3 separate regions of the Homo sapiens genome follow, and regions 1 and 3 are each linked to region 2. The links are contacts of gene promoters, found by promoter capture Hi-C in human tissues and cell types (Jung and others, 2019). All regions are on one chromosome and are shown on one strand. The core of a region is centred on a gene start or on the middle of the fragment in contact, and the rest is flanking DNA. Distances in the headings are between cores, read along the strand shown.

The links. The method cuts DNA at HindIII sites, captures the fragments that hold promoters and counts their contacts. A contact is called where the count stands out against the background at its distance.
Region 1: a fragment that was not itself captured here is called in contact with the fragment with the promoter of CYP2A6 in region 2 in 1 of the 25 tissues and cell types used here (spleen).
Region 3: a fragment that was not itself captured here is called in contact with the fragment with the promoter of CYP2A6 in region 2 in 2 of the 25 tissues and cell types used here (H1 embryonic stem cells and mesenchymal stem cells).

Annotation. Positions count from the first base shown.
Region 1 is chr19:40,665,054-40,667,878 of GRCh38, reverse strand. It overlaps NUMBL (NUMB like endocytic adaptor protein), which reads left to right. Exons shown (of 10, transcript NM_004756.5): 10 at 1-1,974. The coding sequence ends at 411. Among named protein-coding and RNA genes, the nearest start is that of NUMBL, 24 kb to the left of the region's middle. The HindIII fragment of the contact is 6,620 bases long and covers 1-2,825 here.
Region 2 is chr19:40,849,048-40,851,747 of GRCh38, reverse strand. It overlaps CYP2A6 (cytochrome P450 family 2 subfamily A member 6), which reads left to right and starts at 1,301. Exons shown (of 9, transcript NM_000762.6): 1 at 1,301-1,501; 2 at 1,768-1,930. The coding sequence starts at 1,322. RefSeq lists an enhancer at 105-133 and promoters at 1,186-1,322, 303-1,322. The HindIII fragment of the contact is 10,166 bases long and covers 1-2,700 here.
Region 3 is chr19:41,003,877-41,006,576 of GRCh38, reverse strand. It overlaps CYP2B6 (cytochrome P450 family 2 subfamily B member 6), which reads right to left. Exons shown (of 9, transcript NM_000767.5): 2 at 2,414-2,576; 3 at 2,131-2,280. Among named protein-coding and RNA genes, the nearest start is that of CYP2B6, 14 kb to the right of the region's middle. The HindIII fragment of the contact is 5,944 bases long and covers 1-2,700 here.

The sequences.
Region 1 (2,825 bases), core at 278-2,777, 180 kb after region 2:
CCTGCCCAAGTGGCCGTGTTCCTGCCACCCCCACACATGCAGCCCCCTTTTGTGCCCGCCTACCCGGGCTTGGGCTACCCACCGATGCCCCGGGTGCCCGTGGTGGGCATCACACCCTCACAGATGGTGGCAAACGCCTTCTGCTCAGCCGCCCAGCTCCAGCCTCAGCCTGCCACTCTGCTTGGGAAAGCTGGGGCCTTCCCGCCCCCTGCCATACCCAGTGCCCCTGGGAGCCAGGCCCGCCCTCGCCCCAATGGGGCCCCCTGGCCCCCTGAGCCAGCGCCTGCCCCAGCTCCAGAGTTGGACCCCTTTGAGGCCCAGTGGGCGGCATTAGAAGGCAAAGCCACTGTAGAGAAACCCTCCAACCCCTTTTCTGGCGACCTGCAAAAGACATTCGAGATTGAACTGTAGCCCGAGCCGCCCCACCCACTCCATCATCTCCAGGTGCCCCACGCCTGGGGGTGGAGGCACAACCTCTCCCCTAACCCTGCTCCCTGGGGCTGCGCCCCTCAACACCCTCTCAACACCCCCCTCCCTCAACCACCCCGACAACCACTACAGAACCAACATTGTGACGCCCAGGTTGCAACAGGATGGAATTCAGGGACGGACCCAGCCTGGCTAAGGGAACCATTTCACTGCCGGACTTAGGCTGGCAATGCCCCCTTCCCCAACCCCAGACACAGGGGTTGGCCACAATCCCACTGAATGCCCTTGGTTCACACTCCATTTCCCAGTTTCTGTTGACCCCCACCTTCCAGTGTTGGACAGGATGGAGGGGGGACACTTGCTTAGGGGCTCTCCTGGGCCCCACACCAGTGCCCACCCCAAATCTGGTCGTCTCCTCCCCCCATGCACAGCACAAGCTAAGGGCTGCCCTCTGCCCACACGCTGCGTTCACTGCCAATGCTGTACTCACCTCCATCACCCTCCAACTTTGGGGCCCATGTCTTCCTTGGGCCAAGGTCTCATGGGGGCTAGGGCCAAGTTGGGGGCCCAGGAGGCGGGGAGGGAGGAGGAGGAGAAGATGCGCAGTTACCTCATGTCGGTGCCCGCTGGGGAGGGGTCCGGGAAGAAGGGGAAGGGGTGCCTGGCGGGTACTTTTCTATCTTTTATTTCCAGATTTTTTTTGTATCTAAACTTGAAGATTTGTATTATACAAGGACAGCCAATAAAGGAAGAATATAATGGTGCCCCTCGGGAAACGAGGGTGTGTGTAGGGCGCTGGTGAGGCCCTAGAACCTTTCCTCCTGAGTCATGGACTGAAACAGAGTCAGAAGGATGTCCCTGAGTGATAACCTCTGAGTCATAGCGTGGTAACAGGTACCACTGACTCAGCACCTGCCAGGCGGGTATTAAAGGAGCCAAAATTAATCACCCCATTTCTATTCCTTACAGAGTTAGAATCAAGGAATAAAAAACAAATATTATGAACTGCTGGCTGGGCACAGTGGCTCACGCCTGTAATCCCAGCACTTTGGGAGGTCGAGGCAGGCAGATCACTTAAGGTCAGGAGTTCGAGACCAGCCTGGCCGCCATGGAGAAACCCAGTCTCTACCAAAAATTCAAAAATTAGCCGGGCGTGGTGGCAGGCGCCTGTAATTCCAGGAGGCTGAGGCACAAGAATCGCTTGAACCCAGGCAGCAGAGGTTGCAGTGACCTGAGGTCACACCATTGCACTCCTGCCTGGGCAACAGAATGAGACTCTGTCTCAAAAAAAAAAAACAAAAAAAAAAAAACTACTTCTAATTAGCTCAATATTAATATTTTAACAAGTTGGGTTGGTAACAGTATATCTTTGCCCATGCTGGCAAATTCTTGTTTTGTCAGCATTTTCCATAACTCTGGCCAAAGTGTCACCTGATGTGGCAACGTTTTACAGTCTTGCTATTGTTTCTTGAGTCCTTTAATCTATAAGATGTATTTTTAAAAATATATAACATATAAATTTTGTTTCGTTATAGCTCTTTAAAATGAGGTGGTTGATTTTGTGCAGTCCAATATTCTATTCCCACTGGATAGATGGGGAAGTTGAGTCAGTGGCCCACGGTGATACATTTGATTAGTGTGGGCCAAAGTCAAAGGCAGTCGTGAAACCATCAGGCTGAGGCCGGGCACTGAGGTGGCTCTCACCTGTAAGCCCAGCACTTCGGGAGGCCAAGGTGGGAGGATCGCTTGAGCCCAGGAGTTCGAGGCCAGCCTGGGCAACATAATGAGACCCTGTCTCTACAAAATAATTTTAAAATTAGGTGGGCGTGGTGGCATACGCCTGTAGTCCCAGCTGCTGGAGAGGTTGAGGTGGGAGGATTGCTTGAGCCTGGGAGGTCCAGGCTGCAGTGGTCCGTGATGCAGTCACTGCACTCCAGCCTGTGAGGGTGACAGCGTGAGACCCTGTCTAAAAAAGCAGACAAAACAAAAGGCTGGGCGTGGTGGCTCATGCCTTTAATCCCAGCACTTTGGGAAGCCGAGGCAAGTGGATTACCTGAGGTTGGGAGTTCGAGACTAGCCTGGCCAACATGGTGAAACTCCGTCTCTACTAAAAATACAAAACTTAGCCAGGCGTGGTGGTGGGTGCCTGTAATCTCAGCTACTTGGGAAGCTGAGGCAGGACAATCGCTTGAACCTGGGAGGCCAAGGTTGCAGTGAGCCAAGATCACGCCACTGCACTCCAGCCTGGGCAACAGAGCGAGACTCTGTCTCAAAAACAAAAAAGCATCAGGCTGTGAGGGAACAAGCCTAGGGGTCTGCCCTCTATAGCGTTTCCATTACATCCCATTAACCTGCTTGTGGACTCCAGGACTAGGAGACCTAAGACAGCTCTGTCG
Region 2 (2,700 bases), core at 52-2,551:
TACTCATCCCTTCTCCACTCACACCCACCCCAGGATCTGCCTCTGTGCCTAATACTGGAGTTTACCCCAATCTCTTCTGCCACTGTTCCCTCTGCCTGCTAATAGTAGTAGCCCCTGACAAAGCAGGAATCATTCTTAAAGGAGACTTAACTCACCCTCGAATGTGATCTTCTCTTCCCAAACACTCCCTTTCCACTGGCAGGAAAACCAAATCCAGAAAGGGGAACTAAGTACACAGAGCAGGAGAGATGGGAGTTCAGGGCCACTCACACATGTCCCCTGCCCACTGTCTGTTTTCTGTCCTCTGTAGATCTTTATATAAAATGAGAAACATAAACAACAATCATAATATTAATAGGGATGATACAATCAATCTAGTGGGTTTCCCTGAGGATCTGGGTTGGAAACCAGCGGACAACCCTTGGGACACTTGAGATTTTTCCACCATTTGGGGGTTGTTATTACTATTTCTCCAGACCTAGCCAATCCCTCTGCCAACCGCTAACTCCAGGTACTCTTCTCCAGGTGTGGGGAAAGTTCCCCTGAAATATGGCTCTGGTCTTCCTCCCCTTCCCAATCAGAGATGGGCAGTGGAGGTTCTATGGCACCCATCCTGGCCTCACTCTGAGGTTCCAATGAGGATTCTGGGCATCAAGAGACAGCTCTGGGCAAAAGCAAAATCAAGTCAGCCCCTGGACCCAGTGCTGGGCTGCTGGGCTTTCTGGGAGAACCCGCTGGGCTTGCTACACACTCCTCCTCCCAGAAACTCCACACCCACAGCCCTGGGTCTTCCTAGCCCCGAGACTTTCAAGTCCATATGCCTGGAATCCCCCTTCCTGAGACCCTTAACCCTGCATCCTCCACAACAGAAGACCCCTAAATGCACAGCCACACTTTGTCTTACCCTAATAAAACCCAGACCTTTGGATTCCTCTCCCCTGGAACCCCCAGATCCACAACTTTGGGGTGCATTCTCACTCTCAGACCCCAAATCCAAAGCCCAAGTGCTCCCCTATGCAAATATTCCAAACTCCTCAGTTCTACAGCTTATCTGTTGCCCCCTCCTAAATCCACAGCCCTGCGGCACCCCTCCTGAAGTACCACAGATTTAGTCTGGAGGCCCCCTCTCTGTTCAGCTGCCCTGGGGTCCCCTTATCCTCCCTTGCTGGCTGTGTCCCAAGCTAGGCAGGATTCATGGTGGGGCATGTAGTTGGGAGGTGAAATGAGGTAATTATGTAATCAGCCAAAGTCCATCCCTCTTTTTCAGGCAGTATAAAGGCAAACCACCCCAGCCGTCACCATCTATCATCCCACTACCACCATGCTGGCCTCAGGGATGCTTCTGGTGGCCTTGCTGGTCTGCCTGACTGTAATGGTCTTGATGTCTGTTTGGCAGCAGAGGAAGAGCAAGGGGAAGCTGCCTCCGGGACCCACCCCATTGCCCTTCATTGGAAACTACCTGCAGCTGAACACAGAGCAGATGTACAACTCCCTCATGAAGGTGTCCCAAGGCAGGGAGATGGGTGGCACGGGGTGGGGGCTGCCTAGTTGGCTGGGGCTTTGTGGCAGGGGGTTGACCAGTGTGGACCAGAGTCTTAGGAAATGGAGTTTTGGAGTTTCAGCATCAGAAAGACAGGATCTTGGGATGTCCAGCTCCCTGACTGTGAGAACCTGGGTGCGAAGCATCCCAGCACATGACATCTCGGTGCTGGGCCCCATTCAGAGTGGAGGCTTCTCCCTCTAACCACTCCCACCCACCTCCATCAGATCAGTGAGCGCTATGGCCCCGTGTTCACCATTCACTTGGGGCCCCGGCGGGTCGTGGTGCTGTGTGGACATGATGCCGTCAGGGAGGCTCTGGTGGACCAGGCTGAGGAGTTCAGCGGGCGAGGCGAGCAAGCCACCTTCGACTGGGTCTTCAAAGGCTATGGTGAGGGGGTGCCCAAGAGGGGGAAGGTGGCCAGGTGGACACGAAGGTCTCAGTGTTCCCAGCCTTCTCCCTGACTCTCCTGCCAACTGGAGGCTAAGGCAGAGTCCCCAGTCTGGTCTTCCCTCCCCATCTCCCTTCATTGTGGCCTCTCCATGTGTATCCCTCACCTGTCTCCAGCGTCCCTGTCCTGATTCCTCCCTGCCTCTCTCTGCCCCACCTCCTTATTCTCTCTCACTGGAGTCTCCTCTTTCCCCTCTCTCTCCATCTCTAAGGACATCCTGGGTTTCTGTTTTCCAGCCCTGGTTCTCTGTCTTCATTTGTCTTTTTGTCCCTCTTAGCTTCTGGGCTTCTCTGTGTTTCTCATCTCTCCGCATCCCTTTCTCACTTCTTCCTCTGTCTTAGGATTTCAGGGTATTCCTACTTCCACATCTTCAGCCTCCATCTCCTGGTAACAGTCTCTCTTCCTTCCAGACCCTCTCTGTTTCTATCTCAATATTTTTCTCTCTTCTCCAGCTCAGCTTAAGAATCTTTCACCATTTTTATTTCCTCCTCCCAGATCTCCCCATATCTCACTTCCCCTCCCTCCATCCTCTTCCTCCATCACTCTCTTTCTCTCCCCACTTCCTTCCCTTCCTCCATGGAGTGTCCCCTTATCCCTCTGTTTCTATGTGCATCTCTCTGTCTGGCCTTTCTGTTTCTTTTCTGATTGTCTTATTCTTTAAACCTGGTCTCTCTCTCTCTCTCTCTCTCTCTCTCTCTCTCTCTCTCTC
Region 3 (2,700 bases), core at 97-2,596, 150 kb before region 2:
CTCACTCTGCACCTCCTCTCAGGCCCCACCTCTGACTCTGGGAGTGAGTACAGTTAAATCCCAGGGATAGGGGCTGGGCAGAGTAGGTGTTCAATCAATTGCTTATATAAATTAAAAAGCCCTGGGTGGGCACAGGGGCCCATACCTCTAAACCCAGCACTTCGGGAGCCTGATTCAAAAGGATCAGGAATTCAAGACCAGCCTGGGCAACATAAGGAGACCCTGTCTCTACAAAAAAAAAAAAAAAAAAATGTAGCTAGACATGGTGGCACATGCCTGTAGTCCCAGTTGAAATAGTCCAGGGGCTGAAGTGGGAGGATCACATGGGCCCAGGAGTTTGAGGCTGCAGTGAGCTATGATCGTGCCACTGCACTCCAGCCTGGGTACAGAGTGAGACCCCGTCTCTAATTTAAAACAAATAAAAAACCATCTTTCCACCCCTACCTATTACTCCCCCTTAATCTCTTCTTTCCACATCTAGGGCTCTCCAGTCTTCTGGGAATTATTCTGTACTTGTTAAGTGATACCTGTATACACCAGGCTCAGCACTGGCCCCAGCTGGAGGGAGAGTGGTCTGTAAGGACCCAAGAACATCAGGTTAGTGCAGCCTCTCTCTGGTTCTCACTTGCCTGTCTTCTCTCATTCCTCTGCAGACCTTTTCCTAAGCTTTGTCTGTCTGTCTCTCTAATTTTCTCTGCCTCAATTTCTCTTTGCCTTTGTTTCTTTCTGTCTCTCTGTGTGTATATTTGTCTCCCCCCTGCCGTTCTTTATTTTATTATTATTATTATTATTTTTGGAGACAGAGTCTCACTCTATCATGCAGACTGGAGTGCAGTAGTGTGATCTTAGCTCACGGCAACCTCCATTTCCCAGGCTCAATCAATTCTCCTGTCTCAGCCTCCTGAGTAGCTGGGATTAAAGGCACGTGCTACCAAGCCTGGCTAATTTTTGTATTTTTAGCACAGATGGGGTTTCACCATGTTGGCCAGGCTGGTTTTGAACTGCTGGCCTCAAATGATCCGCCAGCCTCAGCCTCCCAAAGTGCTGGGATTACAGGCATGAGCCCCATACCCAACCTATATTTTTTTGTTTTGGTCCCTCCATCTGTCTCTTTCCTCCTGCCTGTGTCACTGTTTCTTCCTGTCCTTCTCTTCAGTCTTCTTGTCCCCGTTTCCCTATAGCTCCTGGGTCTCTACCTCCCCATGCAGCCTCTGCATTTACATCCCAGAGTCTCTTGAGAAATTTTGATAAGAGAGATGGTAAACACCTGGCATGAATGAGATGGAGGTGCTAGCCAGAGACCCTTCACCTACATGTCTCACAGACACCAAGTTATGGAGAACTCAAAAATAACCTAGTGATTCTTTGATGACCCCTCCAGCTGCACCCGGGCAGAACACCCCACCTGGCCTGTCTGCTCACTGCCAGCTCATCAGCACTTCACCCAGGGCAAGGAAAACACAGTTCATTATTTGTTAAATGTCTGTAGTTTTTTTCTTTTACTTAACTTCCGTTTTTGACTTTGACAGACACAATTGATCCATGAAATTATATGTCTTTGAGGGTTTGTTTGTTTGTTTGAGACAGGATCTTGCTCTGTTGTCCAGGCTGGAGTGCAGTGGTACAATCACAGCTCACTGCAACCTCAACCTCCTGGGCTCAAGTGATCCTGTAGTCCCACCTTAGCCTCCTGAGTAGCTGGGACTACAGGCACACACCACCATGCGTGGCTCACTTCTTTTCTATATTGTGTAGAGACAGGATCTCATTATGTTGCCCAGGCTGTTCTCCAACTCTTGGCCTCAAGCAATCCTCCTGCCTGAGCTTCCCAAAGTACTGGGATTACAGGTGAGAGTCATCACATCCAGCCTCTTTGAGTAACTCTTGGACATTATACACCTGGCATCTCTCTCTTTCCCTGGCTCTCTGTGTTTCTCTCCTGCCCATCCCCATCCCTCTCTATTCCCCTGTCTCTCTCCCTCTCTGTCTCTATCCCTCTGTCTGATGGTGTCTCCAGTTTCGTCTGTCTCTGTCTGTGCCCTTATATACCTCTCTGTCTTTCTATTCCCGTGCACCTGCATCTCTCAGTGTTTCATTGTCTTTCTTTCCTATTCATCCCCCAGGACTCACCCTTGGATTTCCGAAGCTCCTCTATCAGACACTGAGCCTCCTCCTGAATCCGCTCCTCCACACTCCGCTTTCCCATCCCGAAGTCCCTCATAGTGGTCACAGAGAATCGCCGAAGCACCTTCCAGCGGTTTCCATTGGCAAAGATCACACCTGGGGTGCAGGGGAGGTGTGGGTTGGTTGTAGAAGAAGTTGGAAGAAGGCTCTGAGTCCTTCTTCCTCCCATATACTCCCTTCCCTGATGCACCCCCCACCCGCCCCCTCCCAGTGCCTCTGAGGCTCTCACCATATCCCCGGAAGAATGGGTCGACCATGGCGATTTTTCCCCGGCCAGAGAAGGCCTCAGCCTTGTCCACAAGGGCCTCCCGTATGGCCTCTACTCCACACAGCATGACCACGGGCCTCGGTCCCAGGTGTACCGTGAAGACGTCCCCATATTTCTCTCGGAACTGCCAATCACATCCACACCAGGGGTGGCTGTTAGTCAGCATACACCTCATTTGTAAAACTATCAAAATACTTACATACCAGATTGGTAATTAGCCCCTCCCCAACATCCGCCTCCCCAGGCTG